2 separate regions of the Homo sapiens genome follow, and region 2 is linked to region 1. The links are contacts of gene promoters, found by promoter capture Hi-C in human tissues and cell types (Jung and others, 2019). All regions are on one chromosome and are shown on one strand. The core of a region is centred on a gene start or on the middle of the fragment in contact, and the rest is flanking DNA. Distances in the headings are between cores, read along the strand shown. Region 1 holds the start of AACS (acetoacetyl-CoA synthetase). Region 2 overlaps BRI3BP (BRI3 binding protein).

Region 1 (5,323 bases), core at 259-2,758:
TGACAAGGGGCTGCAAAGGAGGAGATGTGAGCGACATGGGGCTGTGGCAGAAGACTTCTGGTGCCACAGGTGACTGGGGTGTCCATCCCTGTGAGCCTGAGCAAGAACAGTGACGCCACCAACAGAAACAAGGGAGTCCCTGCGCCAGCGGAGGGGGTGAGGAGGGGAGACCATGAGTTAAAAATCCCCTAGGAGGCCAGGCGCCGTGGCTCACACCTGTAATCCCAGCACTTTGGGAGGCCAAGGCGATCGGATCACCTGAGGTCAGGAGTTCGAGACCAGCCTGACCAACATGGAGAAACTCCGTCTCTACTAAAAATACAAAATTAGCCAGGCGTGGTGGTGTATGCCTGTAATCCCAGCTACTCGGGAGGCTGAGGCAGGAGAATCACTTGAACCCGGGAGGCGGAGGTTGCAGTGTGCCGAGATCTCGCCATTGCACTCCAGCCTGGGCAACGAGAGAGAAACTGTCTCAAAAAAAAAAAAAAAAAATCCCCTAGGAATACCTAGGGGAGGCAGGGTGGAGGGGTGGAGCTGGTAGTTGGGCAAGCCAGCTAGAGCTCAGGAAGAGCACCCGGAGCGGTTACCCCACGGAGAAGGAGCCTTTGCCCCACCCGCACCGAGAGAGGCAGTTTCTGAGGTTCAAGGTGATGGGTGGAAAGAGAGTCTTTTACTAGGTTCTGTTTGGGGGCTGGGAGTGTAGACACGTGGACAGGGCCTCCTGCCTGACCATCCTGCTAGGTGCTGGCCTCCAGCAGGGGCAGCTGGAGATGAGGGAGGTCAGGGGGACAGAGTGCACGGCACTGGGGACTGGCAAGGGACCCCCACAAACAGAGGAAGAGCTGCAAGTCAAAAAGGCCCTATGTCCGGGGGAAGCCCCCACAGGCCGGAGGTCAAGACTCCAGGGAGCACCTCACAGGTAGGAAAGCCTAGCAAGGGGTCACACGGTCAACAGGCAGCTGGCCCTCCCGAGGGGTGACACTCCCGGGGAGAGGGTGACCCCCACATGCAGAGGAGACGCTGCAGAGTCAGGAAGTGCCAGGAGGTGCTGTGGAGGGGTGATGTTCCCCAAGACTGGGGGGAACCCCGCAGTCAGAAGGCCTCCCCGCCATCAAGTGGCTCCTCCAGCCCCAGAAGCGTGAAACTAGCCATGGGGAGACCACCCAACCACCCTGCACGGCTCCCGCCCATCCCCCGCAGGCCCGGCCGCGCGCCCGACTCTCACCCAGCGCCAGGCCGCAGGCGGCGCCCACAGCCGCCCGGAAGCGGTCCATCTGCGTGTTCTTCTTACTGTCAGGCTCCCACATCACCTGGCACTCCAGGATCTCCTCCCGACCGGGGCGCTCCTCCTTGGACATGGCGGCGGCGGGCGGCCGGGGCTGCGACGAGGGCTGGGGACCAGGGGCCGGGGCTGAGGCGAGGGCCGGGGACCTGGGACCGGAGGAAGCGACGGTCAGGAGCGCCTGGCGGGCTGGGTCAGCGACGGCGGCGGCGGGGAACAAGGGACTGAACGGCCGCCGCCGCCTCCTGCGGGCCGCTTGGCCCAGGCCCCGCCCCGCAGGCCCCGCCTCGAATCCCCGCCCCCTTCCAGGCCCCGCCCTCCCGCCTGTAACCCTCCGCTGAGTGCAGCGCCGCTCAAAGGAGTGCTCGCAGCCGCCGGCTCCAGCGCCCGCGGCCGGGGGGCGTGGGGGTGAGGGGCGCTCACGAGCCTTGGCCCCAGCTCCCCGACCTCACCTGGAGCTGGAGGGCGTTAGGGCAGCCGGAGAAGCCAGGCGTCCGAGCCCGCTGTTTCCTACACGTGTACATCATTCATTCGCTATTTCTTCCTGCAGGTCTTTACTGAGAGCCTGCGGCATTCGGAGGACTTTGGGAGCTTTGCGGATACAGCAGCGAACAAAACAAAATTCTTGTTCTCTGTCAACAGGAGAGGAGGGGTACAGGTGTGAGGAAGACGGGAGACGATTAACAAATAAGTACATCGTGTACATACACAAGATAATGTCATAGTATAATACAATAATATACATAGTATGCCAATGGGTATCAAAATACACATTTGTGAAAGGAAAATAAATCTTGGGGCCCCACTACTAAGCTAAAGGGAAAAGAAAAGCTGGGAACTGCTTAGGGCTAACCTGCCTCCATTCTATTCAAAGTCACCCCTCTGCTGAGTTAAATGCACACCTGATTGCCTCCTTTGCAGAGGCTAATTGAAAACTCAAAAGAATGCAGCCATTTGTCCCTTATCTACCTATGACCTGGAAGGCCCCCTCCCCGCCTTAGCTTTTTTTTTTTTTTTGAGTCTCACTCAGTCGCCCAGGCTGGAGTGCAATGTCCCAATCTCAGCTCACTGTAACCTCTGCTTCCCAGGTTCAAGCGATTCTCCTGCCTCAGCCTCCTGAGTAGCTGGGATTACAGGCACACGCCATCATGCCCAGCTAATTTTTCGTGTTTTTTTTTTTGTTGTTGTTGTTGTTTGTTTTGTTTTTTTGAGACGAAGTTTCGCTCTTGTTACCCAGGCTGGAGTGCAATTGCGAGATCTCGGCACACGGCAACCTCCATCTCCCAGGTTAAAGCAATTCTCCTGCCTCAGCCTCTCGAGTACCTGGGATTACAGGCATGTGCCACCACGCCTGGCTAATTTTGTATTTTTAGTACAGACAGGGTTTTTCCATGTTGGTCAGGCTGGTCTCCAACTCCCGGCCTCAGGTGATCCGCCCGCCTCAGCCTCCCAAAGTGCTGGAATTACAGGCGTGAGCTACCGAGCCCGGCTCATTTTTGCATTTTTGTAGAGACGGGATTTCACCATGTTGGCCAGGCTGGTCTTGAAGTCCTGACCTCAGGTGATCCACCCGCCTCGGCCTCCCAAAGTGCTGGGATTACAAGAGTGAGCCCAGGTCTGAGAGCACCCCCTCCAGAGCCTCCCTGATCTCCCAAAATTTGGTGGAGATCTAAAGTTTATTTTGCTGTACAACTCTTTTCTTTGCAGTTTTACTTGCTTCCAACAAGGAAGGCAAGGTTTCCTGCTTCCATGACAATGGAAGGCAGGTAACTCCTTTATGGAGTTTGAGCTCGCTTCCAACAGGGAAGATGAGGTCTTTTTTCCTGCTTCTAGAATGGTAGAGAGCAGTCTACAGCCTAAGACCCATCCCTAGGTAAGTAACTGAATTGGGGTTTGTCTTGGCTAAAGTTAAGGTTAACAGCCAGCTGGTCTTAATGTCAGAGGCATTTGAACCAGAGCAACTCCATCTTGAGTGGGGGCTGGGTAAAATGAGGCTGAGATCTACTAGGCTCCATTCCCAGACAGTGAAGGCATTCTAAGTCACAGGATGAGACAGGAGGTCGGCACAAAATACAAGTCATAAACACCTTGCTGATAAAACACGCTGCAGTAAAAAAGCCGGCTAAATCCTACCAAAACCAAGGTGGTGATGAGAGTGACCTCTGCTTGACTTCACTACTACACTCCCATCAGCACCATGACAGTTTACAAATGCCATGGCAATGTCAGGAAGTTACTCTATATGGTCTAAAAAGGGGAGGCATGAATAGTCCACCCCTTGTTTAGCATATCATCAAGAAATAACCATGAGAATGGGCAACCAGCACCCCTCAGGGTGCTCTGTCTATGGAGTAGCCATCTTTTTATTCCTCTACTTTCCTAAGGAACTTGCATTTGCTTTAGTCTGTAGACTCGCCTTGAATTCTTTATTGCGTGAGATCCAAAAACCCTCTCTTGGGGTCTGGATCGGGACCGCTTTCCTCTAACATTAATTTATCCTTACCATTAGAGCGTGCTCAGTGATCATATAAGTTGTGCCATTTTTTGTTTGGCTTAAATGCTTTTTTGGTTGCTTGTTTGTCTCTGTTTTTGTTGTTGCTTTGGTCTTTTCCCATTGGGTTTGATCAACTATATCTGACTTGATCAAATCAAAAGGAAAGTTCCAAATTGCTGGGAACAAGGACTGTAAAGTGGCTAAATTCACACACACACACACACACACACACACACACACACACACACACGTGGCCTGGTAGGGGGAAAAAACAACCAGCAAAAGAAAAAAATTAAAAGAGGAAAGATGTTTGATTTTAACTACTAAAGGGGCTTTATTTACATAAGGCCACCTTTTTGCTAGCCAGGCCAAAGTGAAAGCAATGGCTGTTGCCCCAAGCTGCAGTTCCATAGCTAAGGCTCTGCCTGCTTTTTCTAACCACGACAGCCTAGATTTAGTTCCTAAATCAAGTCCTTTCTGGTTTGCTACTTGGTACTTCTGAAATAGCAGCAATTTGTCCTAACAGAAATATAGTAATGAGATTTTAAAAAGATTTTTTTAAAGGAGCTCAATGGTTAAAAGTCAGCTTCATTAAAAGCTAACATCCAAGATGTGTGTGCGCATGTGCTCGTGTTTGTATTTAAAAGGCTATCATGTTTTTGTTTTTGTTTTTCTCTCCTAGGAACTGATGCTTTTTTTTTAGAGCAAAGGTTTTTTTGTTTTTGTTTTTGTTTTTCTCAGTTGACTGAATTCTGTTTTTTTCATTAACAGCTATTGCAACAGATGCTACTCTGGGGTTTTTAAGGAAGAGTGTAGTTTAGACACTTAGAAATGTCTTTGTTGGCCAGGCACGGTGGCTCACGCCTGTAATCCCAGCACTTCAGAGGCCAAGGCAGATGGATCACAAGGTCAGGAGATCGAGACCATCCTGGCTAACACGGTGAAACCCCATCTGTACTAAAAATACAAAAAATTAGCCAGCCATGGTGGCGGGTGCCTGCAATCCCAGCTACTCAGGAGGCTGAGGCAGGAGGATGGCATGAACCCGGGAAGCAGAGATTGCAGTGAGCCGAGATCACGCCACTGCACTCCAGCCTGGGCAACAGAATGAGACTCTGTCTCAAAAAAAAAAAAAAAGAAATATCTTTGTTAAAAAAAAAAAAATTTAAGCGTACTGTAAAAGCATCACATCGTCTAACTTCAAAATACTTCTCCCTTTTTGGAGACCCAGGATTCAATGTGGGCTCTGCCCAGAGCTCAGAGATCCAGTTAAGAGGTAGGTAGTCCTGGCCGGGCGCAGTGGCTCAGGCCTGTAATCCTAGCACTTTGGGAGGCCGACGCAGGCAGATCACCTGAGGTTGGGAGTTCAAGACCAGCCTGACCAACAGTGAGAAACCCCGTCTCTACTAAAAATACAAAATTAGCTGGGCATGGCGGCGCATGCCTATAATCCCAGCTACTCAGGAGGCCGAGGCAGAAGAATCACTTGAACACAGGAGGCAGAGGTTGCACTGAGCCAAGATCACACCATTGCACTCCAGCCTGGG
Region 2 (5,791 bases), core at 3,112-5,611, 42 kb after region 1:
AAAGTGTTGGGATTATAGGGGTGAGCCACCCTGCCCAGCCTGCTCCAGCAAATCTTAAATATCCATGCACACTGAATAAACATGCACCTGAAACAGGTGCACGTTTCAGGAAGTGAATGGAACTCTCCAGGAGAGTTTGGGTCCCATCATGTGTACCTTAGAAACAGAAGTCTCAAAAGTCTCAACAACATCCACAAAAACATCTGCATCTGTTTTCCAGATACTTGCAACCAAAAATAAAACTTCACAGGAACACTACACAAGAAGTGGTAGACAGCTAAATCTTCTCCAAACTGAGACCTGGACCATAAGGTCTTGGTTGTAGCAGGTCTGGCAGGGGTTATCTATAAACCTGCACGCAGGGCACTGTGAGCGGGTTGCCAGGGTACATCTGTGGCCAGGTAAGGGCCACAGAGACAGTCGTGATCCCCAGCAGCTTCAAAGCTGCAAAATGCTGGGCTTTTTTTTTTTTTTTTAAGATGAAGTCTTGCTCTGTTGCCTAGGCTGGAGTGCAGTGGCGTGATCTCGGCTCACCGCAACCTCCACCTCCCAGGTTCAAGCAATTCTCCTGCCTCAGCCTCCTGAGTAGCTGGACTACAGGCACCCACCACCATGCCTGACTAATTTTTGTATTTTTAGTAGAGACGGGGGTTTCACCATGTTGGCCAGGCTGGTCTTGAACTCCTGACCTCAGGTGATCCATACTCCTCGGCCTCCCAAAGCGCTGGGATTACAGGCATCAGCCACTGCGCCTGGCCTAGGGCTTTCTTTTTTAAAAAACAAGTCCTAACAAAAGGGGGTTTCTACCAGCCCCTGAGCCACACCTTCTGAAACTCCCTTGCCCAGGATCCCCACAGCTGTCCACCTCGCAAGTCCCACTCTCTGCCCACAGAGACTGCCTAAAAGGAGGACACAACAGATTTCAGATAAAAAGCACCTGTGTATCGTAAATATTTCAGGAAAAAGAATTCAGATCTTTTCAAAGGCTTGCTTATTGCTGCTAATTGTTCCTGAGGATCTTTCTAAGCAGCAATATACTTGAGAATATTAGCTGCTACTGTTTGTTTTCCCTCTAAGGTCCTGAGGAAATCAAAAGAAAAAAAAAAAAACCCTCAAGGGTATAGCTTTTGTATATAGCCCTAGTGAGCAAACTGCAAATTGGGACATGCAGTAGATTCTGGAGCAATCTCCAATCCTTACCAGGTACTTCCTGGCATCAAATCCCCAGGACATTTCTTGGCCCCTCCTTGCATTTTCCGTTTCAAAATGTTGAGGTTAAAATACATCGAAGCACAGAGGGAAGAAAATCTCAGGTCTTCTAGAAATGGCGATGTCTTCATTTAAAAATAGGACTGATGGGGGCTTGGCAGGGGTCTCTAGGATCCAAAAGAGGTTGAGTTGCATCCTGCAGCCCAACTGTCCACATTTAGAAGTGACAACATTCATGAACTAAGTCAACATCCACCAAAAATAACATGAAATAAAGCTCACAGTTTGGGAACATGAAAATAACGCACACAGACCTCACCCACCAATCCCTAAGCTGTGAAAACAAACGCTCGCATTTAAACTTTTCTCAAATGTCAAATTAGCATATTCTTCCCCTCCATGTAAAGTTTTAATAAACTTGACTCAATCTGCCTTTATTAAAAAACCTTACAAAAGATGTATTTAAATGCTTGAAAAAATTAACTTTATGCTCTATGCACAGATAAATTTCTCTTACTGTACAACTAAATATGGTTATATCCTTTGTTTAAAAAATATTTTTTCCCCCACTAATTACACTTCGTGTGTAGTTCCACGTCAATGATCTTTCCGCTCTTCTGGGAATGTGTCCTAAGAGCTGCCGGGTGGGTGGAAATAGCCCTACACAGCGCCACTTTCTTGCTCAGTCGTGTTTATTAAGATTGTTTGGGGTTTGGGGTTTTTTTCCTCCGTTTTCGTTTTCTGAGACAGCGTGCTGGTAACTGTGGACCCGCCCGGCCGGCTGACCTTCACTTGTCCTTGGAGCGGTCCAGGCTCTCGAGCACCCGGTTGAGACGGATGTTGAGCAGTCTGACCTGCTTCTCCAGGTGCTCCAGCTTCTCCTCCACGCTGGGGTTGCTGGGGTTGCTGGGGCCGCTGGGACTGCTTCGCCAGTAGAAGCCCATGGGCCCGGTCATGAAGTAGACGGCCACCACGAAGCACAGCGGCAGCACCGCGTTCTCCGGCTCGCCCTCGTACTTGTGCAGGATGTACACGCAGGACATGGAAAACAGGACGACCCGCACGATCCAGAAGAAGCGGCCGAACACCACGTGCAGGACGCTGAAAGTGAAGCCCAGGGTCAGGGACAAGAACCAGTAGGCCAGGAGGACGACGCCGACCAGCAGGAGCGCGCGGGCCGGGCTGCTGGACACCGAGGCTGGGCTGAAATACTGGGACAGGTTGGAGACTGCGGGACAGAAAAGAGGAACAGGGCTCGTTACGCAGGGGCCAGGGGTTTCTTAACAAGCTAGAATTGGATAGTTGAGCTGGCCTGTGGGGCTTAAAAGGCCTTTGCAACAACCAAAGGAACTCAAGGAAGTTCCTCTGTGAATAGTCACACTTTGCTCCATGAGGACACACAGGGAAGCCTCTTTTTTTTGAGATGGAGTCTTGCTCTGTTGCCCAGGCTGGAGTGCAATGGTGTGATCTCGGCTCACCACAACCTCCGCCTCCTGGGTTCAAGCAATTCTCCTGTCTCAGCCTCCGGGGTAGCTGGGATTACAGGCATGCGCCACCACACCCGGCTAATTTTGTATCTTTAGTAGAGACGGGGTTTCTCCATGTTAATCAGGCTGGTCTCGAACTCCTGACCTCAGGTGATCCACCTGCCTCGGCCTCCCAAAGTGCTGGGATTACAGGCATGAGCCACCATGCCCAGCCAGGGAAGCCCTTTAAGACGACCTGCCATGTTGAGTTTTAAAAACCTCTCCATATACTGGTTTCTCTTCAAATCATATACATCTTTCACCTTTAGCCTGGGCAACATAGTGAGACCCTGATATGGACTGGCTCTGTGCTCCCACACAAATCTCATCTTGAATTATAATCCTCACGTGTGGAGGAAGGAACCTCGTGGGGGGTGATTGGATCATGGGGGTGGTTTCCCCATGCTGTTCTTGTGACAGTGGAGGGGGGGGGGTTTCATGAGATCTGATGGTTTAAGTGTTTGGCAGCTGCCCCCTTTGCTCTCTCTTTCTCTCCTGCTGCCTTGTGAAGAAGGTGCTTGCTTCTCCTTTGCCTTCTGCCATGATTATAAGTTTCCTGAGCCACGCAGAACTGTGAGTCAATTAAACCTCTTTTATTTATGCATTACCTAGTCTCAGGTTTTTTGGTTTTTTTGTTTGTGTTTTTGAGGTTGGAGTGCAGTGGCACAATCTTGGCTCGTTGCAACCTCTGCATCCCAGGTTCAAGCAATTCTCCTGCCTCAGTCTCCCAAGTAGCTGGGATTATAGGCACATGCCACCACACCCAGCTGATTTTTGTATTTTTAGTAGAGATGAGGTTTCACCATGTTGGCCAGGCTGGTCTTGAACTAGTGTCCTCAAGTGATCCACCTCCTCAGCCTCCCAAAGTGCTGGGATTACAAGTGTGAGCCACTGCGCCTGGCCTCGGGTATGTTTTGATAGCAGTGTGAAAATAGACTAATACAGACCCAATCTCTAGAGAACACAAATTTTAAAAAAATTAGACAGGTGTGGTAGCACACACCTGTAGTCCCAGCTACTCAGGAGGCTGAGGTGGGAGGATCACTTGAGGCTGGGAGGTAGAGGCTGCAGTGAGCCATAATGTGCCACTGCACTCCAGCCTGTGTGACAGAGTAAGACTTTGTCTCAAAAGACAACTTTCACCTTTTACTAAAACACCTCTGGAAGTGGGGCATAGCCTGCAAATTGTCCTTCAATTTCCATAGTAACAAATGCCCACCTTCAGGCTGGGCACACAACTACCTAGGATTAAAGCATTTCCTAGCCTCTCTTGCAGCTACATAACTAAGCTTTGGCCATGTGTTCCCTAAAAGTAGCAGGAATGTGTCCTTTACCTCTTCTGCCTGCTGGAACATGGATACAATGGCTGGAACTGGAGCAGCCATTTTGGAAGGCACTCATGGAGGAACAATAAAATGGAAGGTGCTTTGGTCCAGAGCACCACATGCATCAGAGCCATCAAACCCGCCTCACCACCTCCCTGAGAACTTTCATATAAGAGGGAAATAGGTGTCCATCTTGGTTAAGCCAATGTTATGTTGGATTTCTGTTTCAGCCAAACCTGATCCTAACTGGTACCCACACACGAAGTTCCATCTCAAGAATGCAGTGAAATGTAAGAGTAGCATCTTCTGTGTGCCTGACTTGAAGAAATTCAAACAAAAAAGTTAAAAGAACAGTAGAATATTCCTTTTGAAACCAACTAGACTGAACAATTATTAAAAATTCTGAATGTTGCATTCTCTATTTACATACTTTTTAGATTAACCCATTTGAAAGATGTACACATCATACTTCATCATACATCTAAGAATAAAGACATCATTCACCTCAAAACCATGATACTATCATCATTCTAAGAATATTAACAATTCCAGGCTGGGCACGGTGGCTCATGCCAGCATTTGGGAGGCCAAGGTGGGTGGATCACCTGAGATCAGGAGTTTGAGACCAGCCTGGCCAACATGGTGAAACCCCATCTCTACTAAAAATATAAAAATTAGCTGGGCGTGGTGGCGCACACCTGTAATCCAAGCTACCTGGGAGGCTGAGGCACGAGAATCGCTTGAACCCAGGGAGGCAGAGGTTGCAGTGAGCCAATGGCGCCACTGCACTCCAACCTGAGACACAGTGAGGCTCTGTCTCAAAAAATAAATAAATAAATAAATAAATAATAAATTAACAATTCCATATAACATCACTTGAATTTCTCAGTTATCCAGGAATAGCTGTTTCCTCCCAACCCTCACCAGGACCCAGCGACAGTTCACGTTCAGCATTTGCCATCACTTTAGTCTCCATTAATTGAGAAGAGACCCATGACATTTTAGAAACACTGAAATTCTGAAGTCTAATTTTTCCAGGATGGTTTTCTTGCAGGAGGTCCCACATGCTGCAATTGTTTGTTTCCTGACAGTGTTGTTTAATGAGTTCAAGGAGAGTTATATCCTAAGCCTTCTCACACAAGCAGTTCTCAAACTTGTGTGATTCCTCCAGGAATCCCCTGGAGGGCTTAGGAAAACAGGTTGCTGGGCCCCACCCCCAGGACATCTGATTCAGTAGGTCCTGGGTGGGCCCAAGAATCTGTGGTCTTTTTTTTTTTTTTTTTTTTTTAAGACAGGGTCTTTTTCTGTCACCCAGGCTGGAGTGTGATGGTGTGATCTCGGCTCACTGCAGCCTTGACCTTTTGGGCTCAAGCGATCCTCCCACCTCAGACTCCCGAGTAGCTAGGACTATAGGCATGCACCACCACAGCTGGCTAATTTTTGTATTTTTTTGTAGAGACAGTGAAGTGGTTTGGTTCTGTGTTCTCACCCAAATCTAATTTCAAATTGTAATCCCCACGTGTCCAGGGAGGGACCTGGTAGGAGGTGATTGGATCGTGGAGGTGGTTTCCTCCATGCTATTCTCATGAAAGTGAGTGAGTCTCACGAGATCTGATGGTTTAAAAGTGTTTGGCAGTTTACCCCTCGCTCTTGCTTCCTCTCTCCTGCCACCACGTAAGACGTGCCTTGCTTCCCCTTTGCCTTCCGCCATGATTACAAGTTTCCTGAGGC

Evidence for each region. The method cuts DNA at HindIII sites, captures the fragments that hold promoters and counts their contacts. A contact is called where the count stands out against the background at its distance.
Region 2: a contact is called between a fragment that was not itself captured here and the fragment with the promoter of AACS in region 1, in 1 of the 25 tissues and cell types used here (lymphoblastoid cells).

The regions. Positions count from the first base shown.
Region 1 is chr12:125,061,620-125,066,942 of GRCh38, reverse strand. AACS (acetoacetyl-CoA synthetase) reads right to left here and starts at 1,508. Exons shown (of 18, transcript NM_023928.5): 1 at 1,226-1,508. The coding sequence starts at 1,358. It overlaps LOC105370052 (a long non-coding RNA gene), which reads left to right. Exons shown (of 4, transcript XR_001749365.2): 3 at 1,833-1,940. RefSeq lists a silencer at 1,248-1,867. The HindIII fragment of the contact is 13,528 bases long and covers 1-5,323 here.
Region 2 is chr12:125,021,637-125,027,427 of GRCh38, reverse strand. It overlaps BRI3BP (BRI3 binding protein), which reads right to left. Exons shown (of 3, transcript NM_080626.6): 3 at 1-2,437. The coding sequence ends at 1,998. It overlaps THRIL (TNF and HNRNPL related immunoregulatory long non-coding RNA), which reads left to right and starts at 5. Exons shown (of 1, transcript NR_110375.1): 1 at 5-1,985. The HindIII fragment of the contact is 6,522 bases long and covers 1,101-5,791 here.